7 separate regions of the Homo sapiens genome follow, and regions 2, 3, 4, 5, 6 and 7 are each linked to region 1. Evidence: promoter capture Hi-C in 16 types of primary human blood cells and fetal thymus (Javierre and others, 2016). All regions are on one chromosome and are shown on one strand. The core of a region is centred on a gene start or on the middle of the fragment in contact, and the rest is flanking DNA. Distances in the headings are between cores, read along the strand shown. Region 1 holds the start of KCTD9 (potassium channel tetramerization domain containing 9). Region 2 overlaps VPS37A (VPS37A subunit of ESCRT-I). Region 3 overlaps INTS10 (integrator complex subunit 10). Region 4 overlaps WRN (WRN RecQ like helicase). Region 5 has its middle 11 kb from the start of PURG. Region 6 holds the start of PPP2CB (protein phosphatase 2 catalytic subunit beta). Region 7 overlaps LOC105379356 (a long non-coding RNA gene).

What was found. Contacts are between HindIII fragments. The CHiCAGO score rates a contact against its expected background, and 5 or more counts as called.
Region 2: a contact is called between a fragment that was not itself captured here and the fragment with the promoter of KCTD9 in region 1, in 3 of 17 cell types (non-activated CD4 T cells, total CD4 T cells and naive CD8 T cells). The highest score is 7.5, in non-activated CD4 T cells.
Region 3: a contact is called between a fragment that was not itself captured here and the fragment with the promoter of KCTD9 in region 1, in 2 of 17 cell types (total CD8 T cells and activated CD4 T cells). The highest score is 7.3, in total CD8 T cells.
Region 4: a contact is called between a fragment that was not itself captured here and the fragment with the promoter of KCTD9 in region 1, in 2 of 17 cell types (naive CD8 T cells and activated CD4 T cells). The highest score is 6.3, in naive CD8 T cells.
Region 5: a contact is called between a fragment that was not itself captured here and the fragment with the promoter of KCTD9 in region 1, in 1 of 17 cell types (total CD4 T cells). The highest score is 5.6, in total CD4 T cells.
Region 6: a contact is called between a fragment that was not itself captured here and the fragment with the promoter of KCTD9 in region 1, in 1 of 17 cell types (total CD4 T cells). The highest score is 8.9, in total CD4 T cells.
Region 7: a contact is called between a fragment that was not itself captured here and the fragment with the promoter of KCTD9 in region 1, in 1 of 17 cell types (naive CD8 T cells). The highest score is 8.1, in naive CD8 T cells.

What each region holds. Positions count from the first base shown.
Region 1 is chr8:25,456,072-25,460,450 of GRCh38, reverse strand. It overlaps KCTD9 (potassium channel tetramerization domain containing 9), which reads left to right and starts at 2,018. Exons shown (of 12, transcript NM_017634.4): 1 at 2,018-2,252. The coding sequence starts at 2,205. CDCA2 (cell division cycle associated 2) reads right to left here and starts at 1,218. Exons shown (of 15, transcript NM_152562.4): 1 at 978-1,218; 2 at 151-211; 3 at 1-67. The coding sequence starts at 211. RefSeq lists enhancers at 1,320-1,549, 2,920-2,969 and silencers at 1,690-1,899, 2,260-2,309. The HindIII fragment of the contact is 4,823 bases long and covers 1-4,379 here.
Region 2 is chr8:17,250,284-17,254,662 of GRCh38, reverse strand. The region is part of intron 1 of VPS37A (VPS37A subunit of ESCRT-I); the gene reads right to left. Among named protein-coding and RNA genes, the nearest start is that of VPS37A, 5.5 kb to the right of the region's middle. The HindIII fragment of the contact is 1,604 bases long and covers 1,094-2,697 here.
Region 3 is chr8:19,819,558-19,823,936 of GRCh38, reverse strand. INTS10 (integrator complex subunit 10) reads right to left here. Exons shown (of 17, transcript NM_018142.4): 3 at 4,261-4,364; 4 at 3,419-3,558; 5 at 1,417-1,498; 6 at 496-636; 7 at 1-64. Among named protein-coding and RNA genes, the nearest start is that of INTS10, 4.3 kb to the right of the region's middle. The HindIII fragment of the contact is 3,239 bases long and covers 709-3,947 here.
Region 4 is chr8:31,038,615-31,042,993 of GRCh38, reverse strand. All of the region lies in intron 1 of WRN (WRN RecQ like helicase), which reads right to left. Among named protein-coding and RNA genes, the nearest start is that of WRN, 7.0 kb to the right of the region's middle. The HindIII fragment of the contact is 2,663 bases long and covers 688-3,350 here.
Region 5 is chr8:31,020,412-31,024,790 of GRCh38, reverse strand. It overlaps a transcript of PURG not described here. Among named protein-coding and RNA genes, the nearest start is that of PURG, 11 kb to the left of the region's middle. The HindIII fragment of the contact is 4,121 bases long and covers 1-4,096 here.
Region 6 is chr8:30,812,652-30,817,030 of GRCh38, reverse strand. PPP2CB (protein phosphatase 2 catalytic subunit beta) reads left to right here and starts at 4,213. Exons shown (of 7, transcript NM_001009552.2): 1 at 4,213-4,379. RefSeq lists a silencer at 4,340-4,379. The HindIII fragment of the contact is 613 bases long and covers 1,699-2,311 here.
Region 7 is chr8:30,737,372-30,741,750 of GRCh38, reverse strand. The region is part of intron 1 of LOC105379356 (a long non-coding RNA gene); the gene reads right to left. It overlaps LOC105379355 (a long non-coding RNA gene), which reads left to right. Exons shown (of 2, transcript XR_949634.2): 2 at 777-968. It also overlaps a transcript of UBXN8 not described here. Among named protein-coding and RNA genes, the nearest start is that of UBXN8, 4.6 kb to the left of the region's middle. The HindIII fragment of the contact is 2,961 bases long and covers 836-3,796 here.

The sequences.
Region 1 (4,379 bases), core at 769-3,268:
GGAGGTAATTCGGCATGCTTCTGAGGAGTCACAATCTTCCCAGTTCCCAAAATGAAAGAGGCATTTCCTGAAACGGACGACATATTGTAGGGGTGAGGACAACTCTCTGTCTAAACCTTCAACTTCACAAGGAGGCAGATCATCACATACCAGCATTATTCATTGCAGACTCCTTGGTTTCAGGGGGCTTGTCTTTTGAATTGGCATCCATCTAAGAGGTGAAGAAAAACAATGAAAAATAACCCCACCAGCAAGATGAACGTGATTCGATCACGTACCTTATTCAGGACTGAATTGTAATACAGTCCATACTGGCATAGAAACACACGTCACAGGTTTCATTTTTTATTTTAATTTCTGTGGGTATACAGTAGATGTATAATTTATGGGGTACATGAAATATTTTGATACAGGCATGCAATTCGTAATAATCAAATCAAAGTAAATGAGGTAGCCATTATCTCAAATATTTATCCTTTTTGTTATAAACAATCCAATTATACTTCGTTATGTTTAAATGCACAATTAAATTATGGACCGCCACCCTGTTGTGCTAGCAAATACTAGATCTTATTCATTCTTTGTTTTTCTACCTATTAACCATCTCCACTTCCTTCCCATCCATCCCCAATACACTTCCCACCCTGTGCTAACCATTCTTTTACTCTAAGCGCGTACTTTTAAAGCCAAATTAAACAGAAAGAAATGGAGAAAACTGCTGTTCAGGCACCAAAGCAGACCCCAAAGGATAAGCCATGGCTTTTCAACCGTAGCGAAAACCTGAATCATAAGGGTACCCCTCTCAAGACGCAGCTCTATCCATTTCCAGAAATTCTCTCAACAGGTCCGGATGCACTCCTGGTCACCCAGAGCAGCTCCTGACAGGAGTACTAATTCTGTGCTGCAGGGTAAGCCGAACAAAGTGCCTAGAAATGCCCCGGAGAAACAGCCCCGTGGCAGCGCGGATGCAATCCTACCTCTCACGCCGCACCTGAAGGCCCGCCAGGCAGACAGGCTTACTCCCAGAGCCCCGTGGCAGGCGAGCGTCGCGTCGGCCGCTCCTTCCAGACCCCGGCTCCTCTGTCCGGAAGGGCTCTCCTGGCAAAGCACCCGCAGCCGGGAGCCGCTCTTCGAACCCGGAGCCCGAGGTCCCGACGGCTGACCTGGACTCACAGCCTGCGCTGATCCTGGCCTGCGCTCTGCCCGGCAGCCTCCTCCACCCGCCTCCTCCGCCCGCCGACCGATTCAAATCCCCGACCCCGCCCCTCGGTACCGAATTTACTCTACGAATCACTCCGCCACCTCCCCCTTCTCCAGTCCGCGCACACTCCGAGCGCTCCCAGGCCTCTCCCTCGGCACTGGAGTGGCTTCCTGGGCTCGGAGAGGGACCACCGCGAGCTGCAGTCAACCCGAGGACTACAGACACCTGCCACTGCCTTGTGACCTCGGGGACTACTTTTCAGGAGAGTCTCGCGGAGTAACGCTTCTCTTAGCGCTTTAACTCCGCCTCCCACCTTTCTATTGGATGCTGCAAACTTCGAAAAGACTCATTCAACCAATCCTAACAGAGCGACGAGCTGGCTCTTACCCAATCAGTCCGTCCCTACCGCAGCCGTTTCCTAGCTGGGCCGGCTTGTGGGCGGGGCTAACGCTGGAGGAGGGGCTGACTGGTGCTTGGGTCCCTTTCAGCGCTCCACCTCCTTTCCCCAGACCCCGCCCTCGTATGCAGATAAGCGCTACCTAAACTAGAGGGTGCGCCTGCTCAGTAACGCTGGAAGCCGCCGTCCGGCTCCAGGAGCCTCTCTGATTGGCTGATGCCCCTTCCCGTCTACTAGCCTTCAGCGTCTCTTCCCTCCCTCCGTCCCGGCTAGGTTAGCCAGAGCCCGCCCGATACTGGGTGCTGATTGGCTGGACTCTGTCCGGTGACGCGGGTTGGTTGGTACGGCAGAGTGTCAGTCTCGGAGAGGTGGGGGAAGGGCCCCAGGCAGGCTGAGGAGCCTAGGGGCGGGGTGGGAAGGAGGACCGGCCGAACCTTGGGTGTGGGACAGAGTGCGTGCGTGTGGTGTGTCCCCAAGGGCAGGAAGGTGGCGAAGGGAGGCGAATCCGAGTGGGTGGAGGGAGGGGAAGGGCGGGAGGAGAAAAAGGTGGGAGGAGGACCAGGTGGGAGGGTGGCGGCTCACTCAGGACCCAGCGGGGGCAGCGCGATGAGGCGGGTGACCCTGTTCCTGAACGGCAGCCCCAAGAACGGAAAGGTAACGGGGGCGTGAGGGGGCGCGGCGGGCCGGGGGTCGGGGCGAGGGCGGACGGTGCGGAACCGGCTGGCGGGGCAGCGGTGAAGTTGGGTAGAGGGGCTGGGAGGTGGGCGTGCGCGGGCTGGGGGCGCTCGGGGACAGCACAGGGTCCCCGCGGCCTCCTCCCGACCCTCAGGACCCCCGTGCCCGAGCCTGCCCTTCAGTGCCTCAGCTGCCTGGGGGCCGGCGCGGTTCGGCCCGGGGGCTCCGGGTCTCCCGGATGCTTGGTGCGGGGGGCGCGGGGACGGGGGCGCGGGGAGGGCCGCGGTCACCTGGGCGCCCGGGCGGTCGCGCCTCTTCCCGCCTCTCCCCGAGACCCCGCTCCCGCCTGCGGGAGGAGGCGCGCCGGCTCCGGTGCTGAGTAATGATCTGCTCGGAAAGTGGCGGCGAGCACCAGAGCCTGTGGAGATGGGTCAGGGAGACAGAAGTAAACTGCCCGTGGATAAACAAAATCTCCCATCCGAGGTCGCAGACAGGATTTTTAAAATGGGGGCATTTTCTTGTTGATTTTTGCCCTCCTCTCTGAGATGCCTCAAGCCCCCACGCCCCGCCGCCGCCAAACTTCTCTGTACTCTTTTTATTATTTTGCCTTATTTTGATTCCCTAGAGGACGGGTACAGCAGACCCAAAAGGGATCGATTTGACAGTCGCCTTTGCTGTGTTAGGCCTTTGCGGAGAGTGTGGTGCTCAGTGTTCTTCCAGCGCTGGAGCAAGCCAAAACGAATTCTCTTCCTTCCCAGCCTTTTGCCCCACCCATGAAAGTTGTTCTGCTCCTTTGGGAAATTTTCACTGTTCGAGGCAGACATTTATTGCGTTGCTAAATGATACCTAGAAGTAACTCAGCCTTTACGAGTCTAAGGTAAAGGTAAATGGGTCTCGCTGTGTTGGTTGCCAAAATACTCTGCTGCCTGCACATTCGGGGAACACTGTAAATTTTTAAATAGTGAAATTGTCCAGTGGCATTAAAAATGGCTTTCCGATTATTCAGTGTAGAGTAAACATGCTCCGAAAATTCGAACCAGAGTGTGGTTTGTTGGCTATAATTTTATGTTCTTTTGGTCTTAGAGATTTAATACTCATTTAAAATCAGAATTCGTATAAATTCGAGTTCTTGAGTTATCATGAATGCTACCCCGAAAATATGTTCACGAAGTTTACATTTCTCATCACTATTAACTTTTTCTAAACCTGTTCTGTACTTAGCTACTACCTGTTATCTAAAACGTATGTTGTTACTCTAAGAAAGATTTAGTATGTTCAAAATTGGTAATATTTCTCAAAAACAAACTTCTGGTTGACCTTTTTAATGCAGTATCTCTGCTATGTTACTCATGGAAGACAAATATTTAAACCTAGTCATAAATATTTTTGCTCTAAATCTCTCCCAAATCCACTCAATTTGGTTGTCAAAAATTAACTGAGTTGGTCTTTCCATATTGTTGTTCACACGGATTTTTTTTTTAAGCTATCTAGTTTTGACTAGATTAGATTCTTGGATTTAAATTTTATTTACTTTAAAAATATTCTGCTAGAGAATCTCAGAAGATTGGGGAAAATGCATCTCAAATAATTAAATATAAATATGTTTATGTTACAACGTAAAAATCCAAACTGGAGAGTACTAGATAAAAAGAAGCAAAGCCATGATCTTCACTGCTCAGCTGATGAACATATTCTAAGACGTTGGCAGTGTTTTCTCTCCCTTCAGTTGATTAAAAAAATTTATAATTATTCTTATTTGACAAAAGAGCTGCATAATACATAACAGCTTGCATTTTTATATATAAAGTGACTAATTGGATTGGCATGATCATGACATGAATGTTCATTAAGAATAAGCTGGGAAAAGTGCTACTCAAATAGAATAGAATTTGATTTCCCATCCACCAGTTGGAATATCTGTACCACTTACTTTATCTCCCTTACCTCGCTTCTGCTTTTGTTTCCTGGTTATAAGAATAATCTCTGTTTTTTCAAGTAAGTTTCCCTCTCATAGCTTGTTTAGTAGTTACCAGACTGTGAGACTATGAAGCCTGGGGAAGGGCGTGGAGAGGCACAGAATTCTTCCAAGGTGCTGTGTTATATGCT
Region 2 (4,379 bases), core at 646-3,145, 8.2 Mb after region 1:
TAAGAAAGGAGTGAACATTTAAAAAAAAAAGAAGAAAAAGAAAGTAAACAAGGAAAAAAATCACAATCCAAAACATAAGTCCAATATAAAGTTTGGAGCAGTTTGAAGGTCCTCTAAGCCCTTGAACCAGGTCAATGCAAACTAAGAGTTTGGGGGGAAGAAGGCAGGTCAGGAGCATTTCTCAGAGTAATTAATCAACAGGGTGACATTCGTGGAGCAGCAGGTAGGCTAGGGAATTAGCCTCTTTTCCTAGCTTGTTTCCAGCTTGTTGCTGGTAAATAGCAGTAATATTTGCATTCAGATTAACACAGAGACAGCCTCTAAGCTAGCGGAGACTCCTCAGGAAGTTACTAACCCCATGACAGCTACTGACTCCCCAGGAAGCCTCCTTTTCCAGAAGATAACTATCAACTTGCCCTACCTAAGGACTCGTCATTCTTATTCTTCATCACCAGAAGCAGACTATGGCAAACAGTAAGTATTCACAAACAAGTCAACAGGGAAGCTCAAATACAGAAACGAGAACGTCATAAAGGTTTGAATAAAAAAAAATCACGCAAACTGTGCACCAAATTCAACAAATTGAAACATAAAAAACTCAAGAGCAAAGACAAGATGACTATAAATTTATGTAATATCAGAACAACAAAAGACAACAGCACTTGCACACACACACATACTTACACAACTGATATAAGAATGAAAAAGCAAGAAACTGGAAATTTAAAACAAATAGCTCCAAAAATGGTTCAGTGTTGTTTGGAAAATCCTTCATACTATAGCTGTCTCTTGGAGAATGCTGATCCACTTTAGCACATTAAAGATTTTGAGAAATTCCAAAGTAAATTGTGTTTGTTTTCGAAATCTGTGTTAACATGGAGCACTTATTTCACATTTTTTTAATAGAACACATGATAATGACTGAGATGTACAAAGAGCTATGAAAACACAGAAGAAAGCACCTAACCTAGCGGCAGTGGGGTCTTCTGGAAAAAATAATATCTGAGTTACATTTAAAAGAGTTAATACTCAGAAAAGTAAATCAGGGAAATACAGTGTACATTTTAAATGGAGAAGCCCTATCAGAAAAGCTTCAGATACAAAATAACACAAGTTCTCCAAAAGTCTCCATAGCCTTTGCCATATATGAAACGTTACATTCTGTTTGTTGATATCTTTCCACCAGTCACATCACCATCTTCTGTGACAACCAGGAATCAAGTTAAGGTGGCTGGCCTTTTTTGACAAGAGTTAGGAAACTACTGAAAGGAGTGACATGGTCAAATTTGAATTTTAGAAAGATTACTCTGGCAGCAATGTGGAAGAAAAGGCAGAGGGAAAAAGGCTGGAGGCAGAGAGAACTGTTAGAACCTTGTGGTAGTAGACATGGAAGACTGAATGGAAATGGAAGACGGCACAGGTTTTCGGCTTAGGTGAGCAAACAGCAGAAATGGTTTGGAAGGAGTTCAGGTTGGGGGGAGGGGCAGATGTAGCTGATTTAACTAGCAATGGAGAAATGACTGCCTTATCATAACTTTTTTTTAAAGCAGTAACGGACTAATATTTCTAATGAGAAAATTAACTGAGCACTTGAGCTGTATGATATTTCTTAAATGGTACCATGCTTTATTGCGTCATACGCTCTGCAATTATACGTCTTAATCACTGGTTACAAATAGACAATATAATTTAATGTGTCAAAGTTTTAACTTAATTACAGGATTGATACGCATAATTTTAAAGTTTACTATATAGAGCTCAAAGTGCATTTACACAGTCAAAATGTTGATATTTTGGAGATTTCTGTAGCTTCAATGGGCTAAGGCATAACAGATGCTTGTAGAATTTTTTATTACAAGTTAATGTTATTTCCTTCCATAAAGAAGTTTTCCTATCAAATAACTACACCAGCGAGGTAACACACATGAATGAAGGCAGCTCCTTGTAGTCCAACAGGGAGTGAATTGCAAACTAGTGAAATGGGTAGTGGGTAGCCCAGCAAAGCAGACAGCTACTCTTCAGCTTGAAGCAAATGTTGCTATGTGGAAACCAATCTTTCCAGATTTTCCATTTTAAAAGAAGAGTTAGAGACGACAGGGGACATAGGGGAAATCTTCTGCCTTTTAATTTTGCTGTGAACATAAAACTACACTAAAAATAAAGTCTATTAAATAAAGAAAAATTGGGCTGGGTGTGGCAGCTCATGCCTGTCATCCTAGCACTTTGGGAGGCCAAGCCAGGCAGAGTGCTTGGGCCCAGGAGTTTGAGAGACAAGCCTGGGCAACATAGCAAAACCCCATCTCTACCAAAACAACAACAACAACAACAAAAGTAATTAAACTTATGAGCCAGGCATGATGGCATGTGCCTGTAGTTCCAGCTACTTGGGAAGCTGAGGTGGGAGGATTGCTGCGGTAAGCTGTGATCGTGCCACTGCACTCTAGCCTGGGTAACAGAGTGAGACCCTGTCTCAAAAAATAAATAAATAAAAAGGAAACCTGGAAATTTTAATACAAAAATTGCAAATTTTGACTGTTGATAATAAATGCTTTTCATAAAAATATATAACATGCGACGGGTTGAAACACAGACATACACATCCCTTCATTACAATATCTCTTGTGTTACCAAGTTTGTGTGTGAGTCCTCATGAGCTGAGAATGAATTCTATAGAAACAAGAGCATGGAATTTAAGCTTACTCAGAATCCCATGAGATAGGGGGACAAAGTCTTATAGCTGTGATCAAAACGTTAAGCTTAGCAGCTGTGGGGGAGAACTATACAAGAGCTGACTCTACAAGAAGTTTTAAGGCTAAACATTTAGGCAATCAGAACAACGGAATCCGCAGACTGGCAGCAAAAGAAAATATTAAAACAAATTTTAAAGACTAGGGAGAATGGCACTACTATTTTAAAGATAGGGACAAGAACAAAATACAGTAACAATTGCTGTTTACATCTCCTGTGTGCAAGATAATAATTTAGGTTATTTACCTGCATCATGCCTAATTTTATGAAGAAACTAACTGTCTGGAATGGACTTGCTTTCTAAATGGAAAGTCAGAAGTAGTTCTGCCAGAGACAGATAAGTTGTAGGTAAGCTTATGAGAGATCTACAAACAATAAGCTGGCTAGAAGCTTATAGGCTAAGAGGCAAAGATTCAAGCACACTGATTCTATGCAGTAGAAAGAAGGAATGTAATTCGTCCTATGCCTACTATGTGCTAGATACTCTTCCAAATGTCTTACATATATTTTTTAGTTATCAAAAATCCTGCATGACAGGAATCACAATTGCTGATTTTACAGATAGGAATTGGAGGATCAGGGTTGTCTCACATAAAAATATCCAAAACATGAGACATTTCTTCCTCCCAGTCATTTGTTACTATTGCTGAGAAAACATTTTGAGCAGCTCCCCAGCAGACTTCCCCTCCAACTCCCACTAACCAAGAGTCCTGCTTCCACAGTAACTTGGGGGGAAGGGTGATGAGACCATCATCACTGGCATAAACAATCCTTATTCACCTCTAGTGGAGGCTGGGTTGAAAGATTCCAGCCTCCACAAAGTATGGGCCTTGCAGAGGGAAAAACCAACAGTGTCCATAAAGTCAGCTTCCTCAGGAAGTATAAGAAACAGAATTAGTTCTACTCCTGTCCATAAAGTCAGGAGTTTTGGTGATAAACTGAATACTGTGGTAAGTGATACTTAGAAGAGAGAACATATTACTTGAGCCCAGGAGGCATAATTTCTAGTTTCCATTTTCACAGCTGACTTAAACACTTTGGTTAAACACTTTTCTGTGAGTGTCATCTATGACAGTTATCTCATTTGCCGTGCATATTGTTGAGACTCAGATGAAAAAATTTACATAAAATTCACCTATTTTTTTTGTAGAAGACTGAGGTAGCTGAGGAGATAAGAATTTAAGGCAACTAAAAAGTTCACAATCATTAGAGAAAGGGACAAAAAGAGACTGCTGAAGTGGAATTTTCGGAATTATAAGGGGTTAAAAATTGTAAGAGTTGGAAGGGAGATGACAGAATGGGGTAGAGAAAGGTTACTCAGTAGAGCAGAAGAAAAGATACTTTCATGGCCAAAAAAAGATATTCACCTATTGAGCTTACATTTGGAGAAGAGACATAAAACGAAACATGAGGGAGATGGACAGCATGTAACAAGATATTGATATTCCTCATGTAACAAGTTTTTGTACTGTTCATAGGAAAAAACACACTGGAAATTCTTTCAACTTTTACACACCACACCTTTAGAATAACCAATCTGTCTGTTCGCACAAAAATCTTTTAAGTGTAAGTCGTACCACTAATTTAGGTAATCAGGCAACATATTGCCAGTATTGGGGCTCAGAAAACAA
Region 3 (4,379 bases), core at 1,079-3,578, 5.6 Mb after region 1:
TCTATTATGTACTTCTGAGAGCTACGTTTGCTAGGTGACATTAAATCAGATGTATCCTGGGCGCCTGAGATGTAAGAAAAAAGTAGCCTACAATTAACATTATGACTTACTGTTGACATGGTACCTGATAAAGAAAGTCTGACTCCCCATGAAAATGCACAGAGCACAGAATTCCAACATACTTATGTTTTGCTCAAGGACCGACAAGAGGCCACTGGTATAAGCAAGAAGTAATTTCCACTACTTCATCATGGTACATTTGTAATGTTCCATGCAATAACATTACAGCTCAGCCAGAAGACTGTTTTGATCAAGGGGTGGCATTGCTTCCAGAAAAGCCTCATCTTTTAGTATTTTTTTTCTAGATACCATCTTTTGAAACACTCCCAAACTGGTAAGTATCCAGAGGAGAATAATCAGAACATTGAGGGGTTTCTGAATTTTGCAATATTACTAAAGCCTATTTAAGTAAAAGTACAGGGTATTCCTACTTACCTTGATGCTGATTTTCTATTTGAGTAGACCTAGTGACATAATTGATATAAAATTCAGCTGCTTTGTTCAAGTACTTATACAATAAATTGGCAGGTAATCGAACATCATGGTTGTTAATTATTAGAGGAAGGACATCACAAACTGTTGGAGGAGAAAAAGAAGAAATAAATTAATTAGGTTGTCTACCCTAGAGTTCCGATAAATACAAAAGCTTTCAGAGTTCATTTGATGTAGTATCTAAAATATATAGGGGGAAAAATCCCTTATGACTCATGTATTCAAAATGTGCTGTGCAGAGAGACACCAGTGGCTGGAGTCAGGGAGGAAACACAGACACTTTTATGCTGTGGGTGAGGGTCCAGTTCTTCCATTGAATTCAGATGTTTATTACTATGCTTCATACTTACATATACAGCTATGCATATTCTTTCAGAGGTATCAAATCTTACATAACAAAAGTTTAGAAGTTGTTTAAAATGCTTTTTTTTTTTTTGAGACAGAGTCTCACTCAGTCACCAGGTTGGAGTACAGTGGCGCGATCTCGGCTTACTGCAACCTCCGCCTCCCAGTTTCAAGCGACTCTCCTGCCTCAACCTCCGTAGTAGCTGGGACTACAGGCGTGCGCCACCATGCCCAGCTAATTTTTGTATTTTTAGTAGAGACAGGTTTTCACCATGTTGGCCAGGATGGTCTCGATCTCTTGACCTCGTGATCCACCCACCTTGGCCTCCTTAAGTGCTAGGATTACAGGCGTGAGCCACCGCACCCAGCTAAAATGCTTCTAAATTAAAAAAAAAAGAACTTAAATGCCATAACACATAAAGCTCCTTTGCCTTTCATATATGAGCTTATCCCTGAACCAACACTTACCCCAGCATATTAATTTACCATAGAAGTAATAGAGAATACAATTTTCCTTACCAAATAATTTTCTAAAGCAGTTCACTGGAGATTCTTGTTCTTCAATAGTTTCAGCCTCTAATAGTGCCTCCCCAAGGCCAACCTATTTCAAAACAAAATTACTCATTTAAATGTGTTACAGCATAAGTTGTCAGAACTATATGAAGTAATGGGGTATTTTTTTTACTTATCACAGTTTGCATAATCAAACTTATCTGAGAAACAAATAATCACATTTTAAAGACTGGAAAATAAAAGAATGCACCAGCCACACACCCTAGAAGGCCAAATTCACCTGAACATCTGACCACTCTGTCTTGGTTATTCTCTTCATAATTAGCAAATTCTAATTAACGATGAACAAGAATTAACAAAATGTCTATAGAAATGTAAAGGAAGCAATGGAACTGGAGTTCAAATGATAATACAGAGGTAGAGAGATTTTCTAAGAAATAAAGAAACTAAGGTTATTCTCTACATGAAGATGTATCAATATAGACAAAACGTATCACGTTCAAGATAAGTTCTGAGGTGTAGCCAGTCATACAGTCTGGTGTAGAATGGACAGAAAAGTCAGAGTTTTAAGGCTACCTTTCCATTACCAATGCCTTAGCATAGTAGACGGTCCCTTACTCAAATCCACCAAGACACTGGTATCAACTTCCTTGTGACCACACAGGGATGCACCACAGGAGTGGAAAAGTGCGAAAGATTACATCACACAGAAGGTGAAAGGTCAGAGTTATGACCAGAAAGTGTGCTGGGCTGAACAGTGCCCCCCCAAATTCATATCCCCGCAGAACCTCAGAATGTGACCTCATAGACATCTTACCTTTTTTTTTAAAAAAAGTATCTTTGTAGATATAATTAATTAAGATGAGGTCATGGTGGATTAGAAAGGCCCTCAATCCAATGACTAGTGTCCTTATAACATGGCCATGTACACACACCTGTAATCCCAGCTACTCAGGAGGCTGTGGCATGAGAATTGGTAGAACCCAGGAGGCAGAGGATGCAGTGAGCCAAGATCATGCCACTGCACTGCTGCCTGGGCAACGGAGCAAGACTCTGCCTCAAAAAACAACGACAAAAAAGGCCATGTAAAGACAAAGGCACAAAAGAAAGAAGATCATGTGGTGATGGAGCAGAAATTGGAGGAGTGATGAAGCTGCCTGCCAGGGAATGCCAAAGATTGCTGACAACCATCAGAAGCCAGGGAGAGGTAAAGAAAGATTCTTCCCCAGAACCTTCAGAGGGAAAGTGCCTCTGCCAACACCTGACTTTTAGACTTCTAGCTTCCAGAATTGTGGGAGTCCTTCTGTTGTTTTAAGCTACCCAGTTTGTAGTACTTTGTTATGGCAACCCTAGGAGACTAACACAAGCAGGTATGGAAATGATTAACCCGGGCCAGACGCCAGAAAATGGCATGGGAAATAAGCCGCAGAGTATGAACGAATGGAGTGAATGGTTTGAAACCTGACACCTCACTGGCTATGGGAAGTTACTAAAACACAAAATGCTCAGTTTCGTCATCTGTAAAGTGGGATACTATTTACTTCAGGGGATTTAGGAAGATAGGAGATACCTAGCACTTTCCCATGCCTGCCAATAGCACTCGATAATTATTACAGATGAAGGAAAGGGGCAGGAATAGAATGAAAATAGTCTCCATAGGGCAGAAGCACAGGAAAAACGCATCTGTTAAGACTATAAACTCTACGCTAAATTCAAAAGCACATTGTAGAATACAACGGAAAAAGATTACTTTTTACCATATGGATTGCAATAAACAGTACTGTCAGAGCTTGGTGATTTTCCTGATAAAACAGCTTCTCCTGGAAACTTACAAAATATGGTGAAAAGAATGTCCTTTTAGCTTTACTAACAAAGAACCTTCTATTTCAGTTCAATCTTAACCAGTACTCTTCAGAAACTTCTGCTTTGTAGCTCCTCACCATACCGATGAATCTGTTGATGACCCATTGTATTTTATATTAAAAGAAGGGGAAGAATCAAATCTCACCCCATGCTGCACCACCGTTTCAGGGAAGCGCCTCAAAAGTAGAAGCAACATTTCTGATCGTTCTAACGTGTTGAAGCATTGTTCCGTGACCTTTAGTAACATTTCACACTGGACCCGACCAGGAAGAGTTTCAAATAAACCTGTACGAAACATATTTCACTTTTAAAAGTTTCTTGCGGACAGAAAAGACTGCAGCAACAGTGCTGAGTAAGGCATTTTCATGTACAGAACAGTAAACACTACATGTGAAATCAATGCAGTTAAGTTTCACCTACAACCTGGCAGCCTTTTGGAGCCAATAGTATCTGGCACAGGATGTTTGCTGAATAATGGTAAAATATTTGCAAGACTGATCAAATTCAAAAAACAATGATGTATGTGAATGGTCACAAGAATGCCTGTTGCAGGTTGAGATAGAGAGCATGTGCTTGTTGAAGTTCAAATGACCTATGCATCTACTTGCTATTTTATCTAGAGTTTGAAATCTTTGATTGACTACAGCAACATACAGAAGTTTAAAGAGAAAGCTTCTAAATTACTAAAAGCTTCTCTCCTGTTTTGTGGAGAGCTGGTTAATCTATAGCTGCTATCTGGTTATTGTAAAACCTGTTAAAAATATATACAATTAATTCCTCGTCTCACTGATAAATCCATATCCTTTAAAGAAGCTTAAAGGGTTCTAAGCAAGTCAAGGAACCGAGTGACATTATTATAGACTTTGGTTGCCAAGAATAAAACATACATATGGTTACCAATACCCCAGGTGTGACTTTTTTGTGTGTGAAATTACTATATATGATTTGGTATTCCCGAAATGGTAACTTATACACCATTATTCTTACTTCTTAAAAATTGGGTTTGTTTGTCCTGTGAATCGTTCCTTAATGCTGATGTAATAATGCTGATTTCTCTCCACACCACCGGCTGGTCTGGGAAATTCACAAACCTATTTTTAAAATAA
Region 4 (4,379 bases), core at 770-3,269, 5.6 Mb before region 1:
AGACACTCTTGTTGACAGGATGGGATAATTAAAATGTAAGACCACTTCTTGATCTGACTTTTTGAAGACTGAATAGAATTCCATTTTATCTATCATAATTTAACAATTCCCTATTGATGATAATTAGGTTGCTTGCGAATTTCACCAAAAATAACGTTCAATGAATACCCTTGTGGATATGTGGGTATTGTAAGGCATTCCTATCATTTCTATAGGATAGATTCCTAGATATGAAATTACTAGGTCATAGAGTACTCTACTTCTCTGCTTACCTTCTCACCAATAAATTATTCACAATAGTATGCTAACCCCAAAAGGTAAAACTAGACAAAGAAGCAGCCCACACAGAAAGCCAAGAGAAACTTCCACAGTAACAGGGTTAACCTAAAACACTGGTGAAGGATTTCAATCTGACAACTATGAAAAGGTGCTTTAAGGCACCTACTACTCCTACAAGAAGAGTCTCATCAAAGAATAGAAGTCCATGAAGGGCTGACTATTAGTTACAATATAACCACATGTAACTCAACACCTAACTTTGTGGTGTTAGATATAAATCAAATTGATGGTATTTGAGTTGAGTGTTAATGGACCATCATCATCACCATGACCATCACCATCAAAACTATAGCCATTAATATCTATATCCTACCCTTTCCCCACTACTTGTCTAGTAGATCACAAGCTTTGATGTATAATATCCAAGGGAGATAGTGCCTCCCAGTCTTCTGACCAGCCCTCCTCCAGTGATCTTGTCTGCATCCTGCTCCACCTATTTATTCCTACAAAGATACTATGTTATTACCAACGACTGAATCCTTCCATAATCTCAATTCCATATATCCCACTCTCCAACCAACACCTCCTGTTTTTCAAGTTCATTCCCTCTAGAAACTCAATTCCAACAATCTTTTCATCTAACTGGGGCTTTTAAGGGCCCTGCTACCATATCATTGTCCTCACCCCTTGGGCAGTCCTTAATTCTCTTCTTGACTAGTTTAAACTCCAAGTTAACAGCCACTTCCTTGCATACTCCCTCAAATTCATTGCCCTTCTGGCTTTATTACTATCTCCTGGCAAAACTCTAACCCCGAATAAAAAAGAACTCTTGACCTACTCTGTGCCTGTACCTATGCAGCTGAATGAATGCAGCAGGTGAAAAGCACAACCATTTTGACTGGTCTCACCTTAAATTTGTGACCACCAGCCTCAAGTGGGCCCTTACTACTTCCTGGCAATCCTACAACTTTTCCCTAATCTATTTACTATCCTCCCCTCCTAAGACTATTTTATACCTTCTCCTCTCCACTTAAACTTCATATCTCCTCCACCGATCGTCACTCTTAGCTGATGATCTTGCTTCCGATTTCACTAGAAGCAATCAAAAATGAATTTCCACAGGCTCTTACCCTGAAATCTATATCACATAATTATATTTGTACCCATATACTCTACTGTGGTGGTTAATTTTATGTGTCAATTTGAGTGGGCCATGGGGTGCCCAGATATTTGGCTAACCATTATTCTGGGTGTGTCTGTGAGGATGTTTCTGGGTGAGACTAACATTTGATTCAGTAGACTGAGTAAAGCAGATTGCCCTCCCTAATGTGGGTGGGCCTTCAATTTGTTGAAGGCCTGAATAAATAAAAAGGCTAAGTAAGGGAAGATCTGCTCCCTCTGCCTGTCTTTGAGCTGGGACATTGGTCTTCTCCTGCCTTCAGACTTGGACTCAGACTGGAACTTACACCATAGGCTCTCCTGGTTCTCAGGCCTTCACAACTGGCCTGGAACTATACCATTAGCTCCCGTGGGTATGTCTCCTGGCAGATCTTAAAACTTTTATAATCTCTTCATAGATACAGAGACAGAAATACAGATAGAGATGGACACAGAGATATAAAGATCTCCCATTGGTTCTGTTTCTCAGGAGAACTCTAATACATCTACCTTTTCTTATGTAACTATGGATGAACTATCAGTACTCCTACATCCAACCTCTCCATGTGTGCAAACCTCTCATCTACTCAAAGACATTTTCTCGAAGACATCTACTCAAAGACATTTTCCCATCTCCTACATCATCAACTTTTTCCTCTCTACTGGTCTGCCAGAAAAGACCCATCAACATATACGCAATTTTTTCCAACTAAAAAAAAGAAGAAGAAAAAAAAACTCAACTTTTGGCTAACTGCTCCATTATTATTCTCCCCTTTGTAGGAAAACTACTCAAACGAGTCATCTATAATAGCATCTCTGTTTCCACTCCTTTAATCCTCTCTTAAACCCACTGTAACCACTCCACTCCACGAAAAGGGCTCATGTCAAGGTTTCCAATGACTTTTATGTTGTCAAATCCTATAGCCAATTCTCAACGCTCATCTGAGTCAATGTACCGGCAGTAAGTGACACAATTAATCACACCCATCTTCTTGAAACATTTTATCAGGTTTCTGTGATAATTCTTGAGTCTCCATCTATATCAATCCCTTTTCAGTATAACAATCCCTTTTCAGTATACTCTGCTGCTCCTTCTTACCTCCCCAATCTCTAAACATCACAGCATTCCAGGATTCAAGTCACAGACCTCTACTCTTCTCCCTCTACACTCACTCCCTTAGAGTCTGCTGGCTTTTAAATTAGCTGTTATACACTAATGACTTCCAAAGTTATATAAACAGCCTAGACCATTCCTCTTAACTTCAAACTTTGATAGCCAATTATTTACTGGATATTTGAATCTCTAATTGGCATATTCCACTCAATAGATATAAAGTTTCCCCAAACTGCTCCTTTTGTATATTTCCCATCTTAGTAAGTCACCTTCATCTTTCTGGTTGCTCATGCCAAAAGCCTTGGATTCATCCTGACTCATCTCCTCCTTTCACATTCTGCATCTAATCTGTCAGCAAATACTGTTGGTTCTATCTTCAAAACAAAGCCAAAATTCGACCTCCTCTCACCACTTCCGCTGCTACAATGTTGGTTCAAGCCATATTACCTTTTACCTGCTTTTCCCTATGGCCTATGCTCAAAACAGTAGCAGAGTGATTCTGTTATAAGATAACACAATTTAAAGGACTATATAACATAAGTGACTGAAATTTACCCCAGAAAGGCAAGGGTGGTTCAACATAAGAAAATTAATCAATATAACACATTACATTAAGATAAGGGAGGAAAAATACATGATCATTTCAATTGACACAGAAAAGGCATTTGACAAAATCCAACACCCTTTCATGATAAAAACTCAGAAAACTAGGAATAAAAGGGTATTTCCTCAACATGATAAAGGGCATTTATGAAAACCCACAGCTAACACCATACTTAATGGTGAAAGACTGAAAGCTTTCCACCTAAGATAGGAAGCAAGACAAAGATACCCACTTTCACCACTGCTTTTCAACATCATATTGAAAGTTCTAGCCAGAGAAATTAGACATGGAAAAGAAATAAAAGGCATCCATAATGGAAAGGAAGAAGTAAAACTATCTCTATATACAGATGACATAATCCCATATAAAAATCTCAAAGAAAGCTACTAGATCTAATAAGTAAATTCAACAAAGTTTCAGAGTACAACATCAACGTTGAAATATCAGCTGTTGTTATACACCAGAAATGAACAATCTGAAAGGAAACTAAGAAAGTAACTGCATTTACAATAGCAGCTAAAAGAATAAAATACCAAGGAATAAATTTAACCAAGGAGGTGAAAAACGTGTACTCTGAAAACTACAGAATGCTGCTGAAAGAAATTAAAGAAAACACAAATAAATGGAAAGATATCCCATGTTTATGCATAGAAAGACTTAATATTGTTAAGATGTCAATACTACCCAAAGTTATCTACAGATTCAATGCAATCCCTATCAAAAGGCTTTTCTGCAGAAATGGAAAAGGTGATCCTCAAACTCATCAGAATTGCAAGGGACCCCAAATAGCCAAAATAATCTTGAAAAGAAGAACAAAGTTGGAGGACTCATGTTTCCCAATTTCTAAACTTACTACAAAGCTACTGTAATCAAAACAGTGTGGTACAGGCATAAGGACAGAAATATAAATACAATAGAATAGAATTGAGATTCCAGGAGTAAATCCATACATTTACCACCAATTGATTTTTGACAAGGGTGCCAAGTCCATTCAGTGGGGAAAGAATAGACTCTTAAACATGTGGTGCTGGGACAACTGGATCTCCATATGGAAAAGAGTGAAGTTGGACCCCTACCTCACACCATATACAAAAATAACTTAAAATGTATCACACTAATATACAAGAATTTACTTAAAACTCCAATAGAAAAAGTAAAACTATAAAACTATTAAAAGAAAACATAACAGAAAATCTTCATGGCATTGGATTTGGGAATTAGGTA
Region 5 (4,379 bases), core at 787-3,286, 5.6 Mb before region 1:
AAATAATGGTATAAATCTGATTATCTTACTTGATCTGATTAAAGTCAGGATTACTTTTATCAGAAACTTTTATATTCAAAACATATTTAGTATTTTATTTTTCTTAAAGAAAATGGTTCTCTTGGATAATACAGAAATCTTCAGGATTTTGTTGTGGATTCAATGAGGTTGTTGCCTAGAGGTGGCAAACAGAAAAGAAAAAATAGAAAAGAGAAAGACAGTGGCTGATTATTTTGCTTGTCTGTAACGAAATTCATCTAAGAGAAATAAGTCATTCTCAAAACTCAACCTCTGTTTAACCTTTAAAAGAGCATTTGAGAAAGAATAATAAGACGTAATTCTGCCAAGGTGCGGCCTGACCCTGAGTAAATCATTCAACTTCTGTTGGATGATTTCCTCATGTGAAAGATGAACAGTATTGTGCTGGAAGCTAAGGTTCCCTCCTACTCTAAATGTTTAAAATTCTGTATCAGTGGACTGTGAAAGGAAAAATAGATGGATAATACCAGAGTTGGAAAGTGTGAGAGTTTATCTGTTTACATTAAAAACAACTATAATGATGCAGCAACCTGTGATGATACCCAACGGAACAATGCAAAAAAATGTCAGTTTTATAATATGTATGTATTTCTTTAGCCACACAAAATAAAATTTTGTTTCTAGTCCTTATTAAGACCAAGTTGTTGTATACTAACTACGTAACTATCCTAAACTTTAATTTTTTAAAAGGAATATTTTTAAATATTGATTATTTCCCATCTCCTTATTATATCAAATATCTCATTATTTGGAAGGAGCATTGCTTTTTTCTGCATATTCTGTAATCATTTTTTATATTCTGCATGGCAAAGGAATTTTACAGATTAATATCACTTCCTGAAATGCCATTTTTCCTAAAATAACCATAGATCACATTGCCAAATAATACTGCAGCTGTCATGGTAGTGGTCCCTACTGTCTTCGATTCCTTTTTGTTGATCCTGTCCAATATCCTATGCTAGAAATAATGATGTCTGACAAAGACCATCAGAAAGGATACTGACCTGTGAACTGTATGGTTCTGTTTTAGAGGACTTGTAACTACTAGGGTATGCAAAGATTAAACATCTAATGGTTTGGGGGTTTTTTTTAGCCTTAAGAAACGTCAAAGGATGGTGATTGGAAAAGAGAAGAAGCAGCACACAAGGGTTTTGTCTTAGAAGCATTTATTTTATTTATTTATTTATTATTACTTTTTTTTTTTTTTGAGATGCAGTCTCACTCTATCGCCCAGGCTGGAATGCAGAGAAGCATGTATTTAAGCACCCCAGTCCTCAGCTATGCAGTGCCCCGCCACTGCCAGTGAAGAGGCTTAAAAAAGAGTGACATGTTTCTCCCTAGACCTCTCTTTTAGTGCCTATTTGTTTATCAGAGACTCCATTTAAGGGTAACTGAAGTGTATTTTCAAGTGCATATGCATGTGTATTTTGCTAATTTCAAAAGTTTCTGTGCACATAAATTCCATTACGGAAACATTCCATATGATAACTAATCTTTGCCCTGGTGGTGGTTCAAAATAGCAATTTGGTTGGTCTGTTTTCAACAAATTCTATAGAATGAATTGGCTGTTGTTAGAAAATGTTTTCTCTCTTTTCTCCTCCCTCTTCTCAAAATAGCAGATACATTTTAAATCCTTGATTGCTTCTTTTTCAGTGGTGTTTGAAATCTAAGTGGGATTTGAGAGAATAGTTTAGTTTGGCAGTTCTTTACCCTTGCCATTTTGTAGAAACTTTCCTCAGCTTCCCATCAGATATTCTAAGCAACTTTACCAAAAGAAGTCACCTACGTGCCAAAACTGCCGAGCAAAATAAAACAACAGAGCCATAGAAAATGATGTAGGAGTAAGGATAAAGATATATACAGACACCCAAATTCACAACATTCCTTATCATTTGCTAATTTACTTCAGAGACTGTTGTATTTTATTTCTTGGTTCTTCAAACTAGCAATGTGGTTTATTCCAATGATTTGTCAGTCTAGAATGTCAATAGAACAAAATCTTTTGCTGCTTAGTAAATGTTCCAAAAAGGGTATCTCATGTTATAATCAGTTGTAAAAATAGAATTCTAAAATTCCATTCATTATAATCCTCTTTCCTTCTTCCCTCCTGTACACTGTACCCTATTGGAAGTGGGTAAGGGCATTAATTTCTTTCACTATCACATGGACCCACTCCATCCTATTTATTTGTTCAGAAGACAATTGAAACATAATAGAGACCAGAGCTGCTCTTTGAAAATCTAGAAATTGCCCTGTGAGCTTGATCTATAGACTGTAAGAAAGAAGGGTTACTACTTCACTGAACTGTTCTCCACGCTCTTGCCAGATTTCTATATGACAGTTTAGGATGAATAGAAAACAGATTTGACTTGGGATGACATGAACTGAAAGGTCAGTTCCTCCAGCTTTTCAATACACAGTGCATCTTCAGAAAATATTTTTGACGAGCATGATTGACAGGTAATTTCAGAAATGAATTTAGGCTGGGTGTGGTGGCTCATGCCTGTAATCCCAGCACTTTGGGAGGCCAAGGCGGGCGGATCACTTAAGTTCAGGAGTTCAAGACCAGCCTGACCAACATGGTTAAACTCCGTCTCTACTAAAAATACCAAAATTAGCCAGGCATGGTGGCACGCTCCTGTAATCCCAGCTAGTCAGAAGGCTGAGGCAGGAGAATCGCTTGAACCTAGGAGGCGGAGGTTGCAGTGAGCTGAGATGGCACCACTGCACTCCTGCCTGGGCAACGGAGTGAGACGCCATCTCAAAAAAAAAAAAAAAAAGAAAGAAATGAATTTGGTCCCTAGAGAAGTTTCACCATGACCATTTTAAAAGAGCAGGTGGTAAGAAAAGGAAGAGTCAATTAAGATTTATTAGTAGTAATAACTATTGCTTATGGACCACCCACTGTATACTAGACATAGCTGGGCCCCTTATAGCTACTATTCCTAATCCTTATAACAACCCTATTATCCCCATTTTCATATGATTTTCCAGAGGTTTATAAACTGGTTCAGAATATCAGAACTAATGTATTTGAACCCAAATTTACACCAAAGCCAACGATTGTGCCCGTTCAGTTAGGCCAAACTGCCTTTCAGATTTCCTATGAAGCTGATCCTTCCAACTCTAATAAAGCACAGTCTACCCCCAGCCGCCACTATACATCTGCCTCAGCTTACTTGGAATTATTTTATCCAAAACCGTCCCCTATATGTGGGACTAGTCTCACCAAAGAGACACTTGGCTTATATGAGGATTCCATTGGTTAAAGTTGGTGCTAATAAATACAAGTTATTTGATCTTTAGTTTACAGATAAAACCTCTAATCTTGATCAACTATTTCCAATAAACTTTTTAAAGGGATCATAACTTTTTAAAGGGATCAGATCATAAGAATGTAGAAGAGCTTCACAGTTTCATCCCTAAGGGCAGAGAGGAGACAAATTACTATTCACCATGGGTCTACAATTTCATTTTCATGAACCAAAAACAACTGGTTACGTTATCTTAGTTTCAAAATAAATCTTATCAATATTTTTGGAAGTTTTATTGATTTCTTACAACTTTTTCCTGCCATCTTATTGATGTCTCACAACTTTTCCTGCCATACTCCTCCCTATATCATTCCACTCATTTTCATATTTAATTACCAAATTTCCTCCTCTTTCTCTTAATTCCAGTACAATAAACAGATAATTCTCCATTTACAGATACATATTTTTCCCCATTACTATAGGGCACTAATTTTCAAACTTCAGTGTGAATACAAATCATCTTGATGGTTTGTTAAACCACAGATTGCTGGCCCCAGCTCAGAGTTTCTGTTCAGTAGGACTGGTGAGGTGGGGAGAAGACCAAGAATATGCATTTCTAACAGTCCTAAGGAGAGTGGATGCTGTGATCTAGGGGGACCGCACTTTAAGAACCACACTGCTGTCAGCTGATGAGATTTTACCTTAGCTACAGAAGATAGTGATGGAAAAACTCGGTCAAAACAACTAGGGTATCTGGGTAGAAAGAAGACTGAGAGCTACTCCTTCTTCTGCCTTGACAAGCTTACAAATCTTGAAACAAGCAACTTTTTAATAAGTTGACCAGAGTTTTGTAAAAAATTATTTTCTTCCCTTTTGAATAACCTTTCTGATTCCCTCTCATTTTTCAACAGCTATCTTGAGAGAAATCTGATAGGAATTAACAGTTATGAAGCCTCATGTGAAAAGCTTAGCTTTTAAATATATGGAGACTGATGCATATTTTTAATTTATTTTGTAATTATAGTATATAAATCTTGGTAAAGAAAAGTGAACAATTTCTCTACCTAAGAATTATTAATACAAGTT
Region 6 (4,379 bases), core at 756-3,255, 5.4 Mb before region 1:
TTGTAGTAAGAAATTTGAACCAACCCTTTTACTGAGGTCAGCAAAGGACAAAATGTTCAACATAGCATCTGCTCTGATTCCTTTGCCTTTCAATAATTCCATCTCTTGTTTGATAAATTTGAAAAGGTTTTTTAGAACTACGTTTTTGGGCAGAAGGGTGAGAATAGAGGATGAGAACTATGATCTTTTTATTGATCATGATTTGTTGTTTTTAAATGCAAAGAAAGCATTTCCAATTTGATTTTTTCTATATTAATTTTAATTTTTGTAATCATTATCAATAGATATTCTTATGCAGAATTCCCTGTGACAATTTTGATAATATCATATTCACATTCTAAGTATCAGAAGGTATTTGAACTGGAAATGAAAGTATTTCTTTAATCATTTGAGGATTACAGTGATATAGGAGAATCATTTTTAGACCCATACAATGTATAATTGTAGCATATAATTATGTGGATACATTACAAGATATAAATGATTCATATTTCATATTTTAAATGGTATATAATACATTAGGAAAAATATCAATGTTTATATATTTTAAAAGAGCCTAGTCAATTAAGTAGGAAGAAAATCTCACATGTACTTTTAAGGCAAATAATCTGTGGAAGATTTCTTTTTAATTATTTAACCAAAAGGAGAGAGGTAAACAGAATAACAATAAGAAAACCTCTAGGTCAAAAAAGAAAATTAGATCTGGCCTATAAACCTAAGATTAAATGCAGTTTGGCATGACAAGTAATTTAGCAAGGATTGGAGGTTGATGGTTATGTTCTGAAGGAGAACACACACACACAGACACACACACAAACACACACGTCTGACAGAAGCAGAAAGCAAAAAAGAAATAAGTTTAAGAATTATTGTTCTTCCAGACTGGCCCACATGTTGAAACCCTGTCTTTACTAAAAATACAAAAATTAGCCGGGTGGTAGTGGCATGCACCTGTAATCCCAGCTACTTGGGAGGCTGAGGCAGGAGAATCGCTTGAGCCTGGGAGGTGGAGGTTGCAGTGAGCCAAGATCGTACCACTGTGCTCCAGTCTGGGTGGCAGAGTGAGACCCTATCTCAAAAAAAAAAAAAAAAAAGAATTATTGTTCTTATTTATAATTAAGAGACCGTCACAACCAAAATAGCAAAAACTGATATTGTAAGTCATCAAGCCCCTTGGCCAATCTACCATTCTTGGGCTTTCCATGTTCCCATCCACACTGCAGGGACCATAGAACATAAAGCATGGAGTAGAACTCATATGTGAGTGTTAATCTGTACCCCACCAGTACTATCTGTGTGACTTGAACATGTATTTAAACCTCTACCTGTCTTTCTTTTCATCTGTAATATGGAAAGTATAATAACACCAGCCTCATGAGGTTACTGGAGCATTAAATGAGAAGCTACATGTAAAAACATTAGTATATAGGAACTACTCAAAGAAAGTATTCTTCTTTGTTCTACATCACTACTTGACTAAACTTCTTAGAAGTACTATTTTCACAAACACCTACTCACCTCTAAGAATATTCTCTCACATTCATTTCAAACACATTTGCTTCTATTTCAAGGACCTCCCTCCCTAACTACCATCCACAGTTCCCACTTGCCCTCAGGGTATATTTTGTTTTCAGTCCATCTTCTCTAGGAACCCTGAACATATTCTCATTCTCACTTTTGTTCCGAGCTTTCCAAGCTTAGCCGAAAATCAGCTTCCTTTTTTATGTATGTATTGAGACAGGATCTCACTTGTTGCCCAGGCTGGAGTTACGGTGGTGCAATCTTGGCTCACTGCAACTTCCGCCTCCTGGGCTCAAATGATCCTCCCACCTCAGCCTCCTGAGTAGCTGGGACTACAGGCATGCGCCACCATGCCCGGCTAATTTTCCGTAGAGACAGGGTTTCACCATATTGCCCAGGCTGGTCTTGAACTCCTGAGCTCAAGTGATCCTCCCACCTCAGCCTCCTAAGGGCTAGGATTACAGGTGTGAGCCACTGCACCTGGCCCAGCCTCCTTTAAAGCCTTATAGACTAACCTCCTCAGAGAATGTAATATCTATTGCAATGATATCTCACCAGTATTGTTTCATCACCTTTTGTGTTTTGTTCAACTGGTTTGCTGCTATTTACAAGCTGTTGAGAGCAGGAGCTCTTCCAGCCTTATTTCCAACAATATAATCTATTTCTGTTGCTAGGAGAATTTATAGCTTTCCAAACAGACAATGAATGGTCTTTCACTCATTTGTCTACTGGCACACGCACAAAAAAATTCCTTAGACCTTCTTTCCTCTTCTCCAGGCAACTTCAAGCTTTTGCCTTGAGAGAAGGTTGAAAATTCAGTTCAATTACCGCTTTTCTAAAGCTTTCTGTAATTGTTCCCTAGGAGGGGTAAGGCAACTAACATATCGCTCCCATACCGTACTATTGGGCAGGCACTTTTAAAACTTAATCTTCACAAAGGTAGGCCTTTTATTGATTTTAACAGATGAAGAATTTGAGGCTTACGGAGGTTTGATGATTGCCCAAGGACATAGCTAGGGGGTTAGCAAACACAAGAACCCTTGCTTTCTGATACAGGATGTTACCTTCCACTTGGGTTCAGCCGCAGTAGTATGTACCTTTAATAGACACAGTATGATCATTTAGCACATGCTATTCAAGGTATCTGGCAGCTAGCAGCTGCTCATGTTACCTAACTGAATTTAGGTCCTCCCTCAAGTACGGCAAAGCCAAACACTGACATTGGGGTTTGTAGTGAAAGTGAGGCATTTATTGCATTGCACCAAGCAAGAAGAATCAGGCAGCTCATGCTTAAGACCCCAACTCCCTGATGGTTTACAGGTAAGGGGTTTTTTGTGTGCTTTTTTTTTTTTTTTTGAAACAGAGTTTCACTCTTGTCACCCATGCTGGAGTGCAATGGCGAGATTTCGGCTCACTGCAACCTCCACCTCCCGATTTCAAGTGATTCATCTGCCTCAGCCTCCCAAGTAGCCGGGATTACAGGCGCCCACCACCATGCCCAGCTAGTTTTTGTATTTTTAGTAGAGAAGGGGTTTCACCATGTTGGCAGGCTGGTCTCCAACTCCTGGCCTCGGCCTCCCAAAGTGCTGGGATTACAGGCATGAGCCACTGCGCCCAGCCCAGGTAAGGATTTTTAAAGGCAGGGAGGCAGAGGTTACAGGCAAAGTCATAAATCAATACATGGAGGCTATACGTGGGTTTGATCTAAAAAGCCAGGATATCTGAAGCAGGGACCCACAGGTCATAGATGGATTCAAAGATTTTCTGATTTGCAATTGGTTAAGGAGGCAAAGCTTTGTGAATTCTTCCAGGCTCCTCAGGAAGAAATTTAGAACAAAGATAGGTAGTTTGAGATCTCCATGCCAGTGGACACCATTTTCCATTTGGTGAGGTCCAGGTTTCTGAAAAACAACTCAGGGACATATGTCGTCTTTAGTTTCTATAGGGAAGCAAACATTTTGTGAATCTAACGTCCTTGGCTACTGTCTTAAGCTATTATTACCTTCTTGCTTATCAGGTTGCTCATTGACTTATTGAGGAAGTTAGGTGCCTGGAATGTCCCTTCAGGGAACTCAAGATTTTCCTTTATTTCCATGCTTGGGGAGGGGGGTGCCTAGATGGCCCCTAAGAGGGGTCCCTGTTCTGTCTCTCAATAAATATTTGTTGAATGAACAAATCATTACAACTCAGTACACATTGCAGAAAATATAGCCAAGAGCTCTGGAGCTGGAAGGGCCACAGATTATCCTACAGAACAATCATTTCACTTTTCTAATGTCGAAAGGGAGGATTCGAGATGTTAGGGGCTACAGGTGAGGCTGGAAATAATTAATTTACTCCATCAATATTGAATGCCTGCTATTGAGTGCTAGACTCTGGGGAGACAATGTTAAGGGAAGCCCAAGTTTTCCAACTCCCTGTCCAGAGCGCTGCAAAGTACTGCAGGAAGCTAAAGTGAGGACAAAGTTCCCAGAGATCAGGATATTTAAAGGGAGAACCAGCAGAGCTTGGTCTGGGGCAGGGTGGGGAAAAGAGGGACCCTGGCCTCCTCGGACCGTTTCTCCGCCAAGCCACGCGAGGGCGCTGTTCTGCTCCTAGGGCGCCGTGTCCCGGCGGCGCCGCCTGCTCGCCTTTTCCCGGCGGAAATGCCCGAGCGATGACGGAAACCCGGAGGGAGGGGAGAGAAAGAGCGAGAGAAGGGGAAAGACAAGTCGGGAGAGGCCGGTAGGCGTGAGGCGGGCCTGAAGCGGCAGCGGGCGGCCTTCGTCCGGCGAGAGCTAGGCCGAGGACCCGCGCCGCGCTCCCCGGCACCTCACCGCGTCCTTCACCGACTCCCGCGGCGCGCGGCCGGGCGGGGA
Region 7 (4,379 bases), core at 1,067-3,566, 5.3 Mb before region 1:
TGGCCGGGCGCGGTGACTCACGCCTGTAATCCCAGCACTTTGGGAAGCCGAGGTGGGTGGATCACCTGAGGTCAAGTTTGTGACCATCCTGGCCAACATGGTGAAACCCTGTCTCTACGAAAAATACAAAAATTAGCCTGGCATGGTGGCTCACACCTGTAGTAACAGCTCCTCGGGAGGCTGAGGTACCAGAATCACTTGAACTCAGGAGGTAGAGGTTGCAGTGAGATCATACCACTGTACTCCAGCCTGGGCAATAGAGTGAGACTCAGTTTCAAAAAAAAAAAAAAAAAAAAGAACATTGCTTTGACATAATCTTAGTCGTGTCTCAGAGGGGACGTCAAGGGTGATTTTTATTTGTTTATGAGACAGGGTCTCACTCTGTCACACAGGCTGGAGTTCAGTGGCACAATCACAGCCCACTGTAGCCTTGACCTCTCAGGGTCAAGCAGTCCTCCTGCCTCAGCCTCCAGAGTAGCTGGGACTGCAGGCACATGTCACCATGCCTGGCTAACTTTTTTATTTTTTCTATAGACAGGGTTTCACCATGTTGCTCAGGCTGGTCTTGAACTCCTGGGCTCGAGCAATCTGCCAGCCTCGGCCTTACAGAGGGCGATTTTTATAGGGTTCTATAGTCTAGTTAGAGTGGTTTAAGGTGGTCTTTTCAATATGGAGATTTCACTGGGATTGGACATAGTTCATGGTAGAATAGTTTGAGACGGTACACCCAACAAGGTGAAGAAATTGAAGTTAGATTTTCCCTCTTTTTTGACAAGGAAGGTGATTTGCCCAATTCAATGATCAGCTCAACTTCTCAGTGCCTGAGAAGGAAGCTTTGCAGCCTGATGAGCAACTTAGAGACCAGATAAATGGGAAGTTCCTAAAGCTCAGAATGAAGGTATGGATTGACCTATAGCCTATCTTCGTGAGTAAGAATTCCTGGAACAGTAAAATCAGGTTGATTTAGAGCTCTTAGTTCTCATTGGTGATTGTTAAGCTGTAAGTTACTGGTGTCTCCATTCTCACCAAAAGGGTCTCACTCTTGTCACCCAGGCTGGAGTGCAGTGGCACAAGCATAGCTCACTGCAGCCTGGAACCCCTGGGCTCAAGCGATCATCTCACCTCATCCTCCTGAGTAGCTGGGACTACAAACACATGCCACCATGACTGGCTAATTTTTATTTTTTCTTTCCTTTCTTTTTTTTTTTTTCCAGGAGATGGGGTCTTACTATATTGTTCAGGCTGATCTTGAACACCTGGTCTCAAGTGATTCTCTAGCGTTGGCCTCCCAAAGTGCTGGGATTACAGGTGTGAACCACCGCGCCTGGCCTGTTTTCTGCTCCTTAATTGCCTTTGGCCAAAAAATAATTTTTATCTCAAAGAGGCATATCTTGGGGTGGCACCTTCTGGTTTCCTTCACATACTTCATATGATATACATACTTCATCGTGCATATCATTAAACACAATGAAATGGACACATCATGAGCATACCATTCCTTGAGTTCCAATGTATGCATACCCAGTGCAACCTAAATCCCAAGCAAGATACAAAGCACTGACTGACCGTGGCGGCTCATGCCTGTAATCCCAGCACTTTGGGAGGCTGAGGTGCCCAGGAGTTTGAGACCAGCCTGGACAACATGGTGAGACCCCATCTCTACAAAAAAACACATTTTTTAATTAGCTGGGTGTGGTGGCATGCACCTGTGGTCACAGCTACTCCAGAGGCTGAGGCAGAAGGATCACTTGAGCCCAGGAGGTGGAGGCTGCAGTAAGCTGTGTTTGTGACACTGCACTCCAGCCTGGGCGACAGAGAGAGACCATGTCTCAAAACAAAAAGCAAAAAGCATTGCACAGAGAGCAAGCATTGCTCTGATTTTTTTCCACCATAGGTTAATTTTGCCTCTTCTAGGACTTCTGTAAATTATACAAAATGTACTCTTTGGATAAGGCTTTGTTCACACTGTATGCTTTTTTAAACATTTTATGAGATAATTATAAATTCACATGTTGTTATAAGAGGTCACGGAGATTGCATAAATCCTTTACCATTTCCCCCAGTGTTAAAATTGTGCATAAGGACAGTATAATACCATAAACAGGAAATATATATTGACACAATCCAGTGACTTCATTCAGATTTTACCAGTTACAGATACTCATTTGTGTGTGTGATTTAGTTTTTTTATTTTATTTTTATTTTTTGAGACAGGGTCTCGCTCTATCACCCAGGCTGGAGTGCAGTGGCACAATCTCGGCTTACTGCAAACTCCACCTCCCAGGTTCACGCCGTTCTCCTTCCTCAGCCTCCCGAGTAGCTGGGACTACAGGCGCCCGCCACCACGCCCGGCTAATTTTTTGTATTTTTAGTAGAGACGGGGTTTCACCGTGTTAGCCAGGATGGTCTTGATCTCCTGACATCGTGATCCACCCGCCTCGGCCTCCCAAAGTGCTGGGATTACAGGCGTGAGCCACCATACCCGGCCATGTGTGATTTAGTTCTATGCAATATTATCACCTGTGTCAATTTCTCTGAACACTACAGTCAAGATATAGAGTAGTTCCATCACAGGAATTCCTCATGCTACCCTTCTACAGCCAAACCACCTCACTTTCTACCCTCACCACCATCAACCCCCATGAAACCACTCGTCTGGTCTCCGTCTCCTTTTTTCCCCCTCCATCTTAATTGAGGTATAATTGAGTTAAAATCCATCTCTTTAATTTTGTCATTTCAAGAATATTATATACATGAATCATACAGCAGCAACAACAACAAAAAAGCCTTTTTTGAGATGGAGTTTCACTCTTGTTGCCCACGCTGGAGTGCAATAGCACAATCTCAGCTCACTGTAACCCCTGTCTCCCAGGTTCAAGCGATTCTCCTGCCTCAGCCTCCCGTGTAGCTGGGATTACAGGCGCCCGCCACCACGCCTGGCTAATTTTTTGTATTTTTAGTAGATACGAGGTTTCACCATGTTGGTCAGGCAGGTTTCAAATCCTGACCTCAGGTGATCCACCCACCTGAGCCTCCCAAAGTGCTGGGAGTACAGGTGTGAGCCACCGTGCCTAGCTTTTTTTTTTTTTTTTTTTTGAGACGGAGGCTGTCGCCCAGGCTGGAGTGCAGTGGCACGATCTCGGCTCACTGCAAGCTCCGCCTCCCAGATTCAGGCCATTCTCCTGCCTTAGCCTCCTGAGTAGCTGGGACTACAGGCGCCTGCCACCATGCCGGCTAATTTTTTTTGTATTTTTAGTAGAGACAGGGGTTTCACCATGTTAGCCAGGATGGTCTCGAGCTCCTAACCTTGTGATCCGCCCGCCTCGGCCTCCCGAGTGCTGGGATTACAGGCGTGAGCCACCGCACACGGCCTTTATTATTATTATTATTTTTTAAAAAGACAGAGTCTTGATTGCTCTGTTTCCCAGGCTGGTCTCAAACTCCTAGGCTCAAGCAATCCTGCCTCAGCCCCCTGAGTAGCTGGCACTACAGGAATGTGTCATTGCACCCAGCTGTTACTGACTTTTTGATGAGAAGTTTTTAATTTTGATGACAATTTATCTAAGTTTTCTTTTATGATTATTGCTTTCTGTGTCCTAAGAAACCTTTGCTTTTCTTGAAGTCGAGAGATTCTCCTATTTTTTTTTTTTTTTAAATAGACACAGGGTTTCACCATATTGTTCAGGCTGGTCTTCAACTCCTGAGCTTAAGCAATCTGCCCACCTTGGCGTCCCAAAGTGCTGAGATAACAGGCATGAGCCACCGTGCCCGGCCTCTATATTTTCTTCTAAAAGCTTTGTATTTTAGCTTTTACATTTAGGCTTATGAAATTGCTCTTTTAGTAGTCTCTTTTTCCCCCCTAAAAAATAAGATGGCTACGTGTGTGTGTTGGTTGTTGTTGTTTTAACAGGGTCCAATCGTGTTGCCCAGGCTGCAGTGTGGTTGTACAATCACGGCTCACTGCAGCCTCCACCTCCCAGGCCCACGTGATCCTCCCACCTCAGCCGCCTGAGTAGCTGGGACCACAGGTGTGCACTACCATACCTAATTTTTTTGTTTGTTTGAGACAGGGTCTCGCTCTGTTGCTTAGGCTGGAGTGCAGTGGTGAGATCACGGCTTACTGCAGCCTTGACCTTCTGGGCTCAGACTAGGCACCAAAATCACATAGACTTGATTCATCCAATGAACAATAAATATGATGCACCTACCACACCCCAGGTGCTGTTACAGATGCTGGAGATATAGCCACAAATAAGACAAGATTCTTGCACACCATGGAGTCTGTACACTAGTGTGTGATGACTAGTTTTATATGTCAGCTGGGATGGTGTTTTTGGATGAAATTAACATTTAAATCACTTAACTCTGAGTAAGCAGAT